Regions from separate parts of the Homo sapiens genome. Here region 2 is linked to region 1. Evidence: promoter capture Hi-C in 16 types of primary human blood cells and fetal thymus (Javierre and others, 2016). All regions are on one chromosome and are shown on one strand. Each heading gives the region's core, a stretch centred on a gene start or on the middle of the fragment in contact. The rest is flanking DNA. Distances are from core to core; before and after follow the strand shown.

The links. The method cuts DNA at HindIII sites, captures the fragments that hold promoters and counts their contacts. A CHiCAGO score of 5 or more calls a contact.
Region 2: a contact is called between the fragment with the promoter of WFDC5 here and the fragment with the promoter of WFDC8 in region 1, in 4 of 17 cell types (M2 macrophages, M0 macrophages, M1 macrophages and 1 more). The highest score is 7.8, in M2 macrophages.

Annotation. Positions count from the first base shown.
Region 1 is chr20:45,574,113-45,580,999 of GRCh38, forward strand. It overlaps WFDC8 (WAP four-disulfide core domain 8), which reads right to left and starts at 5,172. Exons shown (of 6, transcript NM_130896.3): 1 at 5,110-5,172. The coding sequence starts at 5,135. RefSeq lists an enhancer at 3,987-4,922. The HindIII fragment of the contact is 6,723 bases long and covers 3,211-6,887 here.
Region 2 is chr20:45,113,484-45,120,257 of GRCh38, forward strand. WFDC5 (WAP four-disulfide core domain 5) reads right to left here and starts at 1,691. Exons shown (of 4, transcript NM_145652.4): 1 at 1,516-1,691. The coding sequence starts at 1,600. RefSeq lists enhancers at 1,127-1,628, 1,629-2,128. The HindIII fragment of the contact is 2,929 bases long and covers 1-2,839 here.

The DNA.
Region 1 (6,887 bases), core at 3,922-6,421:
AGAAATTGAGAAATTCCTAGAAGCATATAATCTACCAAAACTGAATCATGAAGAAACAGAAAAACTAAATAGATCAACAAGTAAGGAGATTTAATTGGTAATTAAAAGTCTCTTATCGAAGAAAAATCTAGGATCTGATGGCTTCATGACTTCATTCTACCAAACATTTAAAGAACTAATGCTAATCCTCCTCAAATGCTTCCAAAAAATTGAAGTGGAGGGAATTCTTTCAAACTCATTTTATGAGGCCAGCATTATTCTAATACCAAAGCCATGCAAAGACACTACAAGAAAAGAAAATTACAGGCCAATATCCATGATGTACACAGAGGCAAAAATTCTCAAAAAAAAAAAAAGATCAGCAAATTGTATTCAACAGTACATTAAAAGGATCATTCACAGCCAAGCATGGTGGGTCACACCTGTAATCCCAGCAATTTGGGAGGCCAAGGAGGGCAGATCACTTAAGGCTAGGCGTTCGAGACCAGCCTGGCCAACAGGGCAAAACCCTGTCTCTACTAAAAATACAAAAAAAATTAGCCAGGCATGGTGACACATCCCCATAATCCCAGCTACTTGAGAGGCTGAGGCACAAGAATTACTTGAACCTGGGTGGCAGAGGTTGCAGTGAACCAAGATCGTGCCGCTGCACTCTAGCCTGAGTGACAAAGCGAGACTCTGTCTCAAAATAAAAGAAAAAAATAGTATCATTTACCATGATCAAGTGGGATTTATCCCTTGGATGCAAGGATGGTTCAACATATTCAAAGCAATCAATGTGGTGAACCATCTTAACAGAATTAGTGATATAAATAATATGATCATCTCAGTAGATGCGGAAAATGCATTTGACAAAATTCAACATTTTTATGATAAAAAATCTCAACAAATTAGGTATAGAAGGAATGTACATCAACACAATAAAGGCCAGATATGACAAGCCCACAGCTCTTATACCCAACAGTGAAAAGTTGAGTTTTTTCTCTGAGATCAGGAACAAGACGAGAATGCCAATTTCTACCACTTTTAATCGACATAGTACTGAAAGTCCTGGCCAGAGCAATTAGCAAGAAAAATAAATAAAATTCATCCAAATAGGAAAGAAAGCGACGAAATTGCCTCTGTTTACTTATGACATGATCCTATATATAGAAAACCCTAAAGACTCCACACCAAAAAAACTGTTAGAACTGATAAAGCAATTTATTAAACTTTCAGGATACAAAATCAACATACAAAAATCAGCGGCATTTCTATACACTAACAACAAACTACCTGAAAAACAAATTAAAACAATCCCATTTACAATAGCATAAAAAATACTTAGGAGTAAATTTAACAAAGGATATGAAAGATCTGTACACTGAAAACTACAAAATATTAGTGAAAGAAATTGGAGAAGACATAAATAAATGAAAAGATATTTCATATTCATATTTCATATGGATTAGAAGAATTAATATTGTTAAAATGCCCATACCACCCAGAACCTATCTTTTTGCCCAGCTTCCCCAAATAGCAGAGGTTGCACTTTGCAGGAAACTGAGCAGCATTTTGCAATTGAAAGGTCTACAGATGGCCAGGAGCTGGGGGAGCAGTGTGAATTCCCAGGTTACAATATTTAGGAACTACAGGTAAGGGCCCACTATGACTCTATTACATCTCGCTACCCTCTAGTTCTCCCCAGTTAGGCGCTTGCCCAGCCCCAGGCCCTGTTTCCATGGCTGAGAGCTCCTAGCTCACACCCCTCCTCATCCCCATAGCATAGCATGTTCTGTTGCAAGGCTACTCAACCAGATATGTGCCTCTAGCCTCAGTTACTAGGAAGCAGACCTTGAGGAGGACAACTAGCTCCATAAGTCACTTTAATACACCTTGCCCTAAGTTCAGGCTGAGTAAGTAAGTAAATTAGTAAGCCTCGTCCAAAGATATTTTCTTCTAAATGCTGCCTAGTCAGATATCTACATTCTGATACCGGAGAAGGATTGTCTCTAAATATTGAGTACAGAACACTCCGTACATATCTCCATATTGTGCTGCTAAAATATTTTAAATCTTTTACATTTTTTGTCCTTTTGATCTGTCAATGATTGAGAAAGGTGTGTCAAGGGCCCTCAATACAGCCATAGATTTCTCAATTTATGCCTATAATGATGTCAATGTTTGCTTTAATATATCCTGATTTGATTGGTTTAGGTAAATACAAATGTATTCCTGGTGAACTGAGTCTTTTACCATTATCTAGCAAGCCATCCTTTATCCTTAAAGATAAAACTTCGTCTTAGAGTTTTCTTTTTTTTTTTCAGACAGTCTCTCACTGTCTTTCTCCCAGGGCGGAGCGCAGTGGCACGATCTTGGCTCACTCCAACCTCCCTCTCCTGGGTTCAAATGATTCTTGTGCCTCGGCCTCCCAAGGAGCTGGGATTATAGGCATGTGCCACCACACCTGTAATTTTTGTAATTTTAGTAGAGACGGGGTCTTTCCATGTTGCCTAGGCTGGTCTTGAACTCCTGGCCTCAAGCAATCTGCCTGCCTCGGCCTCCCAAAGTGTTGGGATTACAGGCGTGAGCCAATGTGCCCAGCCTTAGAGTTTTCTATTGCCTAATATTAATCAAACTATACTCTCTCTTCTTTGTTTGCATTTGCCTAGTCTTTTTTCCATTCTTTTGCGTTCAACCATTCTACTTATGTTTTAAGTTTATCCTTCAAATCGTGTAAATCTACATTGTAAAAATCCAGTCCAGAAATTATTACCTATTAATTGACATTTATGGGCACTAATGACATATTTGGATTCATTTCTACAATTTTATTACAAGTTATCTACTCTCAGTCCTCATTATTCAGATTCTGTACTTGCCAATTTGCCTACTTGCTGAAATTTATTTATTACCCAAAAATCAATACTCATGATGCTTTTGTGGTCATTCAGGGATATGTGCAGAATGGCAAAAAATTTGAGTCCCCCAACGTACACATTCCCAGCTGAAGTCAAACAAGGCAACGCTCTGCTTGTTTAAGCTCTTCTACTACTATAAACAAGCTTCCTTTTTGCAGTCTACTTAGTGTCACATTTTTCACATTTTTGTGCTTTTTGTTGGTGAGTTTGCTGTTTAAAATGGCTGCCAAGAATTACTAAAGTGCTGTCAAGTGTCCTAAGAGCAAGAGGCCTGCAATGTGCCTTACAAAGAAATTACTTGTGTCAGATAAGCTTGGTTCAGGCATGAGTTACAGGGCTTTCAGCCACAATTCAATGTTAATGAAACAATAATATATATTACATAAGGTGTCTTTTTTTTTTTTTGAGATGGAGTCTCACTCTGTCGCCAGGCTAGAGTACAGTAGTGCGATCTCGGCTCGCTGCAACCTCCGCCTTCTGGGTTCAAGTGATTCTCCTGCCTCAGACTCCCGAGTAGCTGGGATTACAGGCACCCACCACCACGTCCTGCTAATTTTTTGTATTTTTAGTAGAGATGAGGTTTCACTGTGTTGGCCAGGATGGTCTCAATCTCCTGACCTAGTGATCCGCCTGCCTCAGCCTCCCAAAGTGCTGGGATTACAGGCATGAGCCACCGCGCCTGGCCTATATACATGTTTAAAAAATAAAGACAGGGCCAGCACGGTGGCTCATGCCTGTAATCCCAGCACTTTGGGAGGCTGAGGCAGGCAGATCACCTGTGGTCAGGAGTTCAAGACTAGCCTGGCCAACACGGTGAAACCCTGTCTCTACTAAAAATACAAAAATTAGCCTGGAGTGGTGGTGCACACCTGTAGTCCCAGCTACTCAGGAGGCTAAGGCAGGAGGATCCCTTGAACCCAGAAGGTGGAGGTTGCAGAGAGCCGAGATCACACCACTATGCTCCAGCCTGGGGGACAGAGAGAGATTCCCTCTCAAACAAAACAAAAAAAATAAAAATAAAAATAAATAAATAAATAAAGTATGTAGAGTTTTATTTAATAATTAACCACACAGATTAAAAAATAGAAAGTAGCCAGCTTCCCAGAAGTCTTCTGTGTGCACCTTCTAATTACCATCTCTGTCATGTGTCTTCAGACAGAAGCACATATAAAAACAAGGTTATGTATTGATCAAATGATGAAAATGTGTGGTCAGAGGCTTGCATTTTCCCTAGGAGCAATGGCTCAGTATTTGCTAATCCGGTGTTCACAGTGACTTTACAGAACATAACTACCCCCAAGTAATGGGAATCAACTGTATTTTTATTACTTTGGTGTACAAAGAACTTTGAGCTCTCCATGGCTTGCCACAACAAAAGACTTCCTAGGCAAATTGTCTACTGCTTTGTTCCAAGTGGGGGCTCTACTTGAGGCTGTGGGACCAAGACAAAAGAAGCAGCCTCTATGTGGATTAGGCCCCTTCTCCTGGCAGAGAGAAAGCACAAAGGAGCTGGCAGAAACTCACAGTGCAAAACTCACTATGCATATGCTACATCTGCTCATACTCCAATAGGCAAAGCACAGCTGACAGCAAACCCAAAGTCAATGAGACAGAAATGTGTCTTCCTTCCACGGGCCGTTCTAAAATTGCAAGGTAATGGACAGGAGTGTCCTCTTAAAGGAAAGATGGAATGAATAGTTGTGAATAATAATATAACCCATCACTACTACTCCTGTTTTAATTTTTTGAAAATGTTTAGATACATATTATATGCTTGTTTAATTTAAAATATCAAACTTTACCTTGCTCAGGCTCTGCCCCTCCACACTGGGCCACTCAAAGATGCCCAACTTACCCTACTTGGGCTCCAACAGCCATATCAGGTTGCATTCGAGACCAGCCTGGCCAACATGGTGAAACCCCGTCTCTACTAAAAATGCAAAACTTAGCCGAGCGTGGTGGCGCACACCTGTAGTCCCAGCTACTAGGGAGGCTAAGGCAGGAGAATCGCTGGATGCATTGATGCCCTCTTCACCCTGCTTAGGCTCTGATTCCTGACACAAGACAGCTCTGTTCTGTGGAACCCCTCCTCACTATGCTTGGCCCAACTCCCCACAGCCGACCACTCTAACTTCTATGTATCCTCCTCATCTCCTTGGGCTCAGACCCTCCATGTCTGGCTACCCACCCCCATAGACACCCTCCTCACCCTCCTTCAGTTCGGACAGTCCACATCAGGCCTCTTCCCTATGGAGACAGCTTCCTCACTTTGCTCCAGCTCTAAGGCTCCTCCCTCATCTGCTCCCCTGCCTGGACACTCTGCTCACCCCACTCAGGCTCTCATTCTATGCCAGTCTGCCCCTCTAGCCCCAGGGGGATGCCTTTCTCAACATGGGCAGGCTGGTCTCCATGCTATGCTGCTTCTTGCCTCTTCACTGGGCATTCTCATCTACCCCTGGCTCCAGCACACCAGGCCAGCAGCCCTCCTACAGAGACACCCTCCTTGACCTGTTCCAGCTCTGATGCCCACACGGAGCCAGCCGTGGCTCCCTTCCCCTTGGGGCAAACGCCTACCTTGCTAAATGTGCCTATCTAATGGCTTTAGGACTGACTAGTTCAGTTAGTAAAGAAAAGGAGACAAAACAAGGAAGAGCTACTTTTCCTTTTTGTAAAAATATGTATTGTGAAAAACACCACAAAAATAAAAATATGCATGAAACATTAATGTTCAGTCTAACGAACTATTACGAAGTGACCACTCATTAAACTATCACTGAAATCAAGTAAAAAATTTCCAACACTTTCTGCTCCTTTTTCATTCTTTTCCAGTCACAACCCCTTCCTATGCTCTCAAAGGCAGCTAATGGTAGTGACTTTCTTTTTCATATTTTCAAGATCATATGTATTCCCCTAAATATGTTTTTGTTTTTGTCTGCTTCTGTTCTATATCAATGGAGTCACTTGGAATGTATTCTTTTGTGCCTGGCTTTTTGTGTTCAACATTATATTAATGAATTCCATCCACATTGTTTTGTGTAGCTGTATTTTGTCAATTTTCATTGCCATGCCATCTATTGTATGACTACACACATCTCTACTGAGTTGTTTATAGTTTGCAGCTGTTAAGAATAAAGCTGCTGTGTGTATACATAGCATGTATGTAATAACGTTCTGCACGTGTATCCCAGAACTTAAAGTATAATAAAAAACTAGGATTTTCTAAATAAAAATGTTATTTATATCAACATGTAATAAGTTTATTACGTTAAATGAATTAATAAATGTTTTTAAATGTCAAAAAAATTTTAAACAATTTACTCATGTAAAAAAAAGAATAAAGCTGCTATGAACACTCTGTGTGCATTTGCTGGAGCACGTGGGCAGGTGTTCTTGTAGGTTATACATTCAGCATAGGGAATGATGGGTTACAGGGTATGCATATCTTCAGCTTCTCAAGCTGATACCAAATTATTTCCCAAAGAGTTTGTACCAATTCACAGCCTTGCCATTGGTAGTTGAGAGTTCCTATTGTTCCATAACCATGCTGTATGTAGAACTGTCACAATCTTTTCATTTTTACCATCCTGCTACGAGTATGGAAATACATCACTGTGGACTTAATTTAAATTTCTTGACTACTAATGAGGTTGAGCACCTTTTTAGATCTTTATTAACCACTTGGCTATCCTCTCTTTGATTTTCTTTTCAAATGTTTTGCTCATTGTTCTCTGGGGTTTTCTGACTTTTTCTTGCTGATTTCTACTGGAGTCATGTCTTTCCTCAGTTATATGTATTATGAACATCTTCCAGGATCAAGGGTAATCTTCTAAAACCCTTATTGGCTTGTCTTTTACCTTTTGAATGAAAGTTTTTATCACGTGCCCTTCCTACCCCAAAGACAGAATCAGGAATCCTTTTTCTATGTTCCTTTCCTACAATACAATAACTCGCTACAATACAATACAGTAACTCCAATATCTGAAGTCT
Region 2 (6,774 bases), core at 441-2,940, 460 kb before region 1:
TTGGGGTGTGCTCCCTGGGAACACAATGACTCCCCCAAATCACCCACTTATGCTGTGCTTACTGTGTGCCAGGCCCTTATTCCTCGAGACACCATTTACTCCTGAGAGAGAGGCATGGGACCCCATTTTACAAGGAGTAAGTCTCCAGACCTGTCCTGTTGCCTTCCAGGAGTGTCCTGCCTGGAAGTCCTAATAAACTCATGCACTTGCCAATCTGGCCTTGTCTAAGTCATTCTTTGTTCTCTCAGCTCCTTCCTATGTTGGGGGTGCATTGTCCTGTACAGTCCTGGGTTTTTGCTGTAATAGTTGGTAAAGTGAATCTTTCTGATTTCAAATACTTGCACTCATGCACTTGCTAATCTGGCCTTGTCTAAGTCATTCTCTGGTCTCTCAGCTCCTTCCTATGTTGGGGGTGCATTGTCCTGTACAGTCCTGGGTTTTTGCTGTAATAGTTGGTAAGGTGAATCTTTCTGATTTCAAATACTTGCATTCAAATGCCACATTTGGCACTAACTCAGAGTCAGTCTTTGACCTTGTTAAGTGGTTCCCCGCTATGCCTCAATTTTCCTCATCTGCAAAATGGGGATGAAAATAGTCCTGTCCTCACAGCACCTTGTCGAGGAGTTACGTGATGATGGTGCATGAATCACAGCCAACACAGGGTCCAGCCTTGGAGCTCACCAGTGTACTTCCTTCCTCAGCCTGTCCCCATTACTGTCCCCTTTCTTTAAGGCAGGGCAAGGGTTGCACAGGTGAATGTAGGTTGGAGTGTTCCAGCCCCAGAAAAGGACGCAGGTGGAGGCCTCACCCAGATCAGGAGTCACCTGTCTAGCCACTCAGCAGCCCTCCCTCACCTGTCAGCAGGCCAGCCCCAGCCTTGTCAGGGGTGGGAATGGGGACAGGAGGTTGGGGGCGATGAGAGTTAGAGACAGAGCTTCCTCCCCACAAAGCCCAGATCCCAGAAGCCACACCCTCTCCTCAATTCCCAAGTCCCTTCCACAGATGGGGTGGTGGACCCACTGACCCAGTCACACCACAGCCCAGCAGGCACAGACAGGGTCCCTCCCCACACCTGAAGGCACAGAGACACACATGGACAGGCACCAAGCTCAGACACATGCGTGCAGCCATTCCTAAGTGTACGTGTGCAGACAGAGCTTTGCACAGACAAGCAGACGCAAAGACACATGTCTACACAGACACAGGCACATGCATTCCCCGCCCTGCCACCCCCTGACATATAGACAGGCACAGACAAGCACCGAGAAACTGGCAGAAAAGACACTTACAGATACCAACACAGGCAGGTGGACAGGCACAAATGTACACACATAAAAACACAGGCTTCTGAAAGCACTAAGAATCAGGCATCCACACATACACACACGCACGCACGCACACACACACGCGCACACACACCCCACAGGGCATTACCTGCCTTCCCCCAAACCCTTACTCTCCCTAGAGAAGTAGAGACAATCTGGTCCCCCCAGCAGAGGGATTTCCCGCACTCACCTCCCTTCTTCCTGCCAAAGACAGCAGGCAGCTGACTCCCCACAGCCAGGAGGGCCCCCAGGAGGAGAAGGCTCTGGGTCCTCATATTTCTGCTGCCGGCTCAGGGCCCAGGGCCCCCCAGATTAACACCTGCAGCCTCAGGGAAGCCAGAGAAACTTAGTCAGGAGAGGAAAGAGAGGGGGTGTGGAGTGACACCGTGCCTGCTTCATCTTGGCCCCACCCCCTGAGGGCCCGAGGACTCAGTGCAAGGGATGCTGTCACAATAGCTGAAGATAGGGTGGCGGCACATCCTGCATGTGGGGGACTCAGATCCAGTCTTGCCTGTATCGGTGACTTGGGCTGTGATCTTGGGCAAGTCTTGTCTCTCTGGGCTTCAGTTTTTTCATCTGTACACAGGGTGAAGGTTGTTGAGGCAGATGCTTGCTATCCTGGCTCTCAAAGATGTTGAAGCCCCAGCGATGTCTAGGCAGCGGGTAGAGGTCAGCTTTGAATAGCAAAGGAGTGGGGGTTTGCAGAGTTCTGGATGCCTAGGAAGGGAGAAGGCATTAGGGTTAGGCCAGAGCTTGCAGCCAAAGAAGGCTGGCCCAGGCTGGCATAATGAGTGAGGCCAGCCCTGGCCTCTCCTCTTGGGTCCTGTGGATGGGAGAAAGACCACCCCGCCTTTGGTGAGATCACCAGTGGCTTCTGATAGAACTGCCCTCTTCCTGGGGCTGGCTTGGCTGTTGAGGGTGGGGGAGCATGGCTTTTGGCTTGGCTAAGTTTGCTGGTCACAGCAGATGTGTGGCCACTGGAACCTCTTCTCTGGCCCTAAGGGATCCTGAGCAAAAAAATGTCATCTCATCCAGGGACCCCCACCTTAGATTTCGTATCTCTGATGTTGCCTCCTGCATTTGGTAGAAGAGAGGGAGCTGAGACTTGGCATCCTAAGGGACATCCTAAACAGAAACTCCATCGAAGTACATTCTCTCAGCCTTCTCATTTGAAAGACGAGGAAACTGTGAGATAGAGATGAGAGGGGACTGGCCCAAGGACACGCAGCTAATTCCTGACTAAGCTGGGACTTCCCACTGTGGCCTCCCCATCACCCTCATTCAGTTCCTGGGTTTTAAAAGCAGGTCAATACCTCATCTGATCCTGAGAAAGGAGGGTGATATTACAGGGCTTGTCTCACTTACCCATTCCAATCCAGGACAGCCCTGGCAGCAGGAAGTTCTTCCTTGGGTTTAATGTGAATCTCTCGTGCTGTCTTCTAAGCTATTAAGATAGGAGAGGCTCTGTCTTCTATGATCTGATGTTGCTTTTGGAATGCTGGCACCTCCTTGGAAGCTTTATTTTGGAGGACAAATATATGAGCCCTTCCTTCCTCCCTCCCTCCACCCCTCCCTCCCTCCACCCCTCCCTCCCTCTTTCTTTCTTTTTTCTTTTCTTTCTTTCTTTTTCTTTTTCTTTCTTTCCTTTTTTCATTTCTTTCTTCTTTCTTTCCTTCTTTCCTCTCTTTCTTTCCTTTCTCTTTCTTTCTTTTCTTTCTTTCTTCTTTCTTTTTCTTTCTTCTTTCTTTCCTTTTTTATTTCTTTCTTCTTTCTTTCCTTCTTTCCTCTCTTTCTTTCCTTTCTCCTTCTTTCTTTCTTTCTTTCTTTCTTTCTCTCCTTCTCCTTCTTCTTTCCTCTCTCTCTTTCTCTTTCTCTCTCTGTCTTTGACAGAATGTCGCTATGTCACCCAGGCTGGAGTGCACAGTGCCATCATGGCTCACTGAACCCTTGACCTCATGGACCCAAGTAGTCCTCCTGCCTCAGCCTCCTGAGTACCTGGGACTATAGGCATGCGCCCCAATATTTGGCTAGTTTTTATTTTTTGTAGAGATGGGGGGTCTTCCTATGTTGCCTAGGCTGGTCTCTAACTCTAGGACTCAAGTGATTCTCCCACCTTGGCCTCCCAAAGTGCTGGGATTCCAGGGGTGAGCCACTGTGCTCAGCCATGAAATGCTCTTTTTTTTTTTTTTTTTTTTTTTTTTGAGACGGAGTCTTCCTCTGTCATCCAGGCTGGAGTGCAATGGGGCAATCTCTGCTCATTGCAACCTCCGTCTCCTGGGTTCTAGCAATTCTCTGCCTCAGCCTCCCAAGTAGCTGGGACCACAGGCGCCCGCCACCATGCCTGGCTAATTTTTTGTATTTTTAGTAGAGACGGGGTTTCACCATGTTGGTCAGGCTGGTCTTAAACTCCTGAATTCAGGTGATCCACCCGCCTCGGCCTCCCAAAGTGTTGGGATTACAGGCATGAGCCACCATGCCAATGCTTTTTAAATTAAAATTATTTTGTAGACATTTTCCTGTGCTGTGAAATGTTCTCTAAACATCATGTTTTCTGATGGCTACATGCTGTTTTGTTAGATCTATATGTCAAAACATCACTTCAGTAAAGTTTTTAGGGAAAAAAGATATGCCAAAATATACACAATCAGTATCCTATTATGAAACATGGAGGTTTCCAATTTTCCACTTTCATAAATAAAGCTGTGATAACCATCTTTTTGTGTACATTTTGGAGTCACATCTCTGACTGTTTTCTTAAAGTAAATTTGTCAAAGTTAGAAATGCTAGGTCAAAAGGCACAGTCATGTTTCCAGGCGTTGGATATATCTGGTCAAATTAAATTTCAGAAAGGAAGTAAGTGAGTGTACAAGAGCCTCCACCTGCCCTGCCATAGACCTCTATTGTTTCGTCTGCCCAGCGTCTCTTCCTTTGGTGGAACCATTGCCTCCTGACTGCTGTCATTCTGGTTGGTTGCCAATCAGCAGGTACTTCTCCTATCAAAGCTGAGGGCACTGGATCCAGGTTACACCCACTGCACTCTTCTCCACCCCTAACTTGCCCACGCCTTCATTAGAGTCTTGAACAGATAAGCCAGTTCTCTAAACAGAACAGTCCAAAGCTCAGATGCTGTTGCTCACAGCCAAAGATCCTTAGTGGATATTCTTACTACATACAGGATATTAAAAAAATAAGTAAATAAAATCTTTGCTAACGGAAAACAATATTTCATTTTAATTTGTCTTCCTCTTCCTCTTAATACCCATGATGGTGAGCATTTCTTCATATTCGCATACTGACTGTATCCTTTCTCTGTGAATTGCCTGTTTTTGTATTTTGCTCATTTTTATTGGGGGTCCTTTTATTTTTGAGTTTTAAGAGCTGTTTATATATTAAGAATCTATTAACCTGTCATACACAAGGGGCAGTAGTGAACAGATGTATATTGGAGTTAGGCAGACCTAGTTTTGAATCTTGGTGCCATAGGCTCTATCTGTTTGACATTAATTTTGTAAAACCCCTGTTTATTTTTGTATACCAGTAGAGATAGAGATAATCATATACGTGTTATAGGATGGTTCTGAGAACTGAATGAGATAAACTTGATAAATGCTTTGATGCTATATTGCAAATATTTCTTTCCTCATTTTTGCTTAGTACCAAAGGATTAAATTTTGGGGTAATCAATTCAATCTTTTCATTCATATTTTCTCCTTTTATTTTTATGCTAAAAAGGCTTTTTGACTCTGATGTTAGATAAATATTCACTATATTTACTTGTTATTATTTTGTGATTTTTGAAAGACATGATAATTCTTTAATCTAGCTGAAGTTTATCTTGGTATAGAGCGTGAAATAGGAAATATCTTTTTTTTGTAAGTAATTAAGCAATTGTCCTATGATCATTTAGTGAATAATTTAAACTTTTGCCATTGATTAAGAATTAAAACTTTATCAATAACTTAAGTCTTATTGTAACAGGGGCTGTTTATGGGTTTTCATTTTTTTTCTTTTCCTTTTTTTTTTTTGAGATGGAGTCTCGCTCTGTCACCCAGGTTGGAGTGCAGTGGCATGATCTTGACTCACTGCAACCTCCACCTCTCGGGTTCAAGCAATTCTCCTGCCTCAGCCTCCTGAGTAGCTGGGATTACAGGCACATGCCACTACACCCAGCTAATTTTTGTATTTTTAGTAGAGACAGGGTTTCACCATGTTGGTCAAGCTCCTCTCAATCTCCTGACCTTGTGATCTGCCCGCTTCAGCCTCACAAAGTGCTGGGATTACAGACGTGAGCCACCGTGCCTTGCCCGTTCTTTTCTTTTGACTGTTTATTCTTATGCCAGCACAGACAAGCATGTATTGTGGGTTCAGTTCCTGACCACTGAAATAAAGAGAATATTGCAATAATATTTGGTTAGTTTTTATTTTTTGTAGAGATGCGGGGGGCGGGGGCCTTCCTATGTTGCCCAGGCTGGTCTCTAACTCCTGGACTCAAGTGATTCTCCCACCTTGGCCTCCCAAAATGCTGGGATTAAAGTGAGCCATGTGGATTTTTTGGTTTCCCAGTGTATCTAAAAGTTATGTTTGCACTATAGTGTAGTCTATTAAGTGCAAAATAGCATTTGTCTAAAATAAGTATGTACCTTAATTTAAAAATACTTTATTGCTAAAATATGCTAATAATCATGTAAGCCTTCAGTGAGTCATCATCATCTTTCTGCTGGCGGAGGGTCTTACCTTGATGTTGAGGCTGCTGAATGATCAGGGTAGTGGTTTCTGAAGGATAGGTTGACTGTGGCAATTTTAAAAAATCAGACAACTATGAAGTTTGCTGCATCCATGGACTCTTCCTTTTTTTCAACTTTCATTTTAGAATTAGGGGGTACATGTGCAGGTGTGATACAAAGGTATATTGTGAAAGATTTCTCTGTCACATATTGTGAAATACTATCAAACATGCAATGCTGTTTGATAATATTTTATACACTGTACATCCTCTTTCAAAATCAGAGTCATGGCATGGTGCAGTGGCTCATGCCTATAATCCCAGAGCTTTGGGAAGCCAAGGCAGGAGTATCACTTGAGCCCAAGAGTTTGAGACCAGCCTGGGCAATACAGTGAGGCTCTACCTTTACAAAAAATTAAAAAATTAGCTGGATGGTGGTGCATGCCTATATCCTACCCCCTCGGAAGGCTGAGGTAAGAGGATTGTTTGAGCTCAAGAGTTCAAGGTTACAGTAAGCTGTGATCATGCCACTGCACTCCAGTCTGGGCAACAGAGCAAGACCCTGTCTCTGAAAACAACAACAACAACAAACAGTTGGAATCAATTCTCTCAAACCCTGCTGTGTTATCGACTAAGTTTACATAATACTTTAAATTCTTGGTTTTGTCATTTCAGCAATGTTCACAGCATCTTTACTAGGGGTAGATTCTATCTCTCAAAACTACT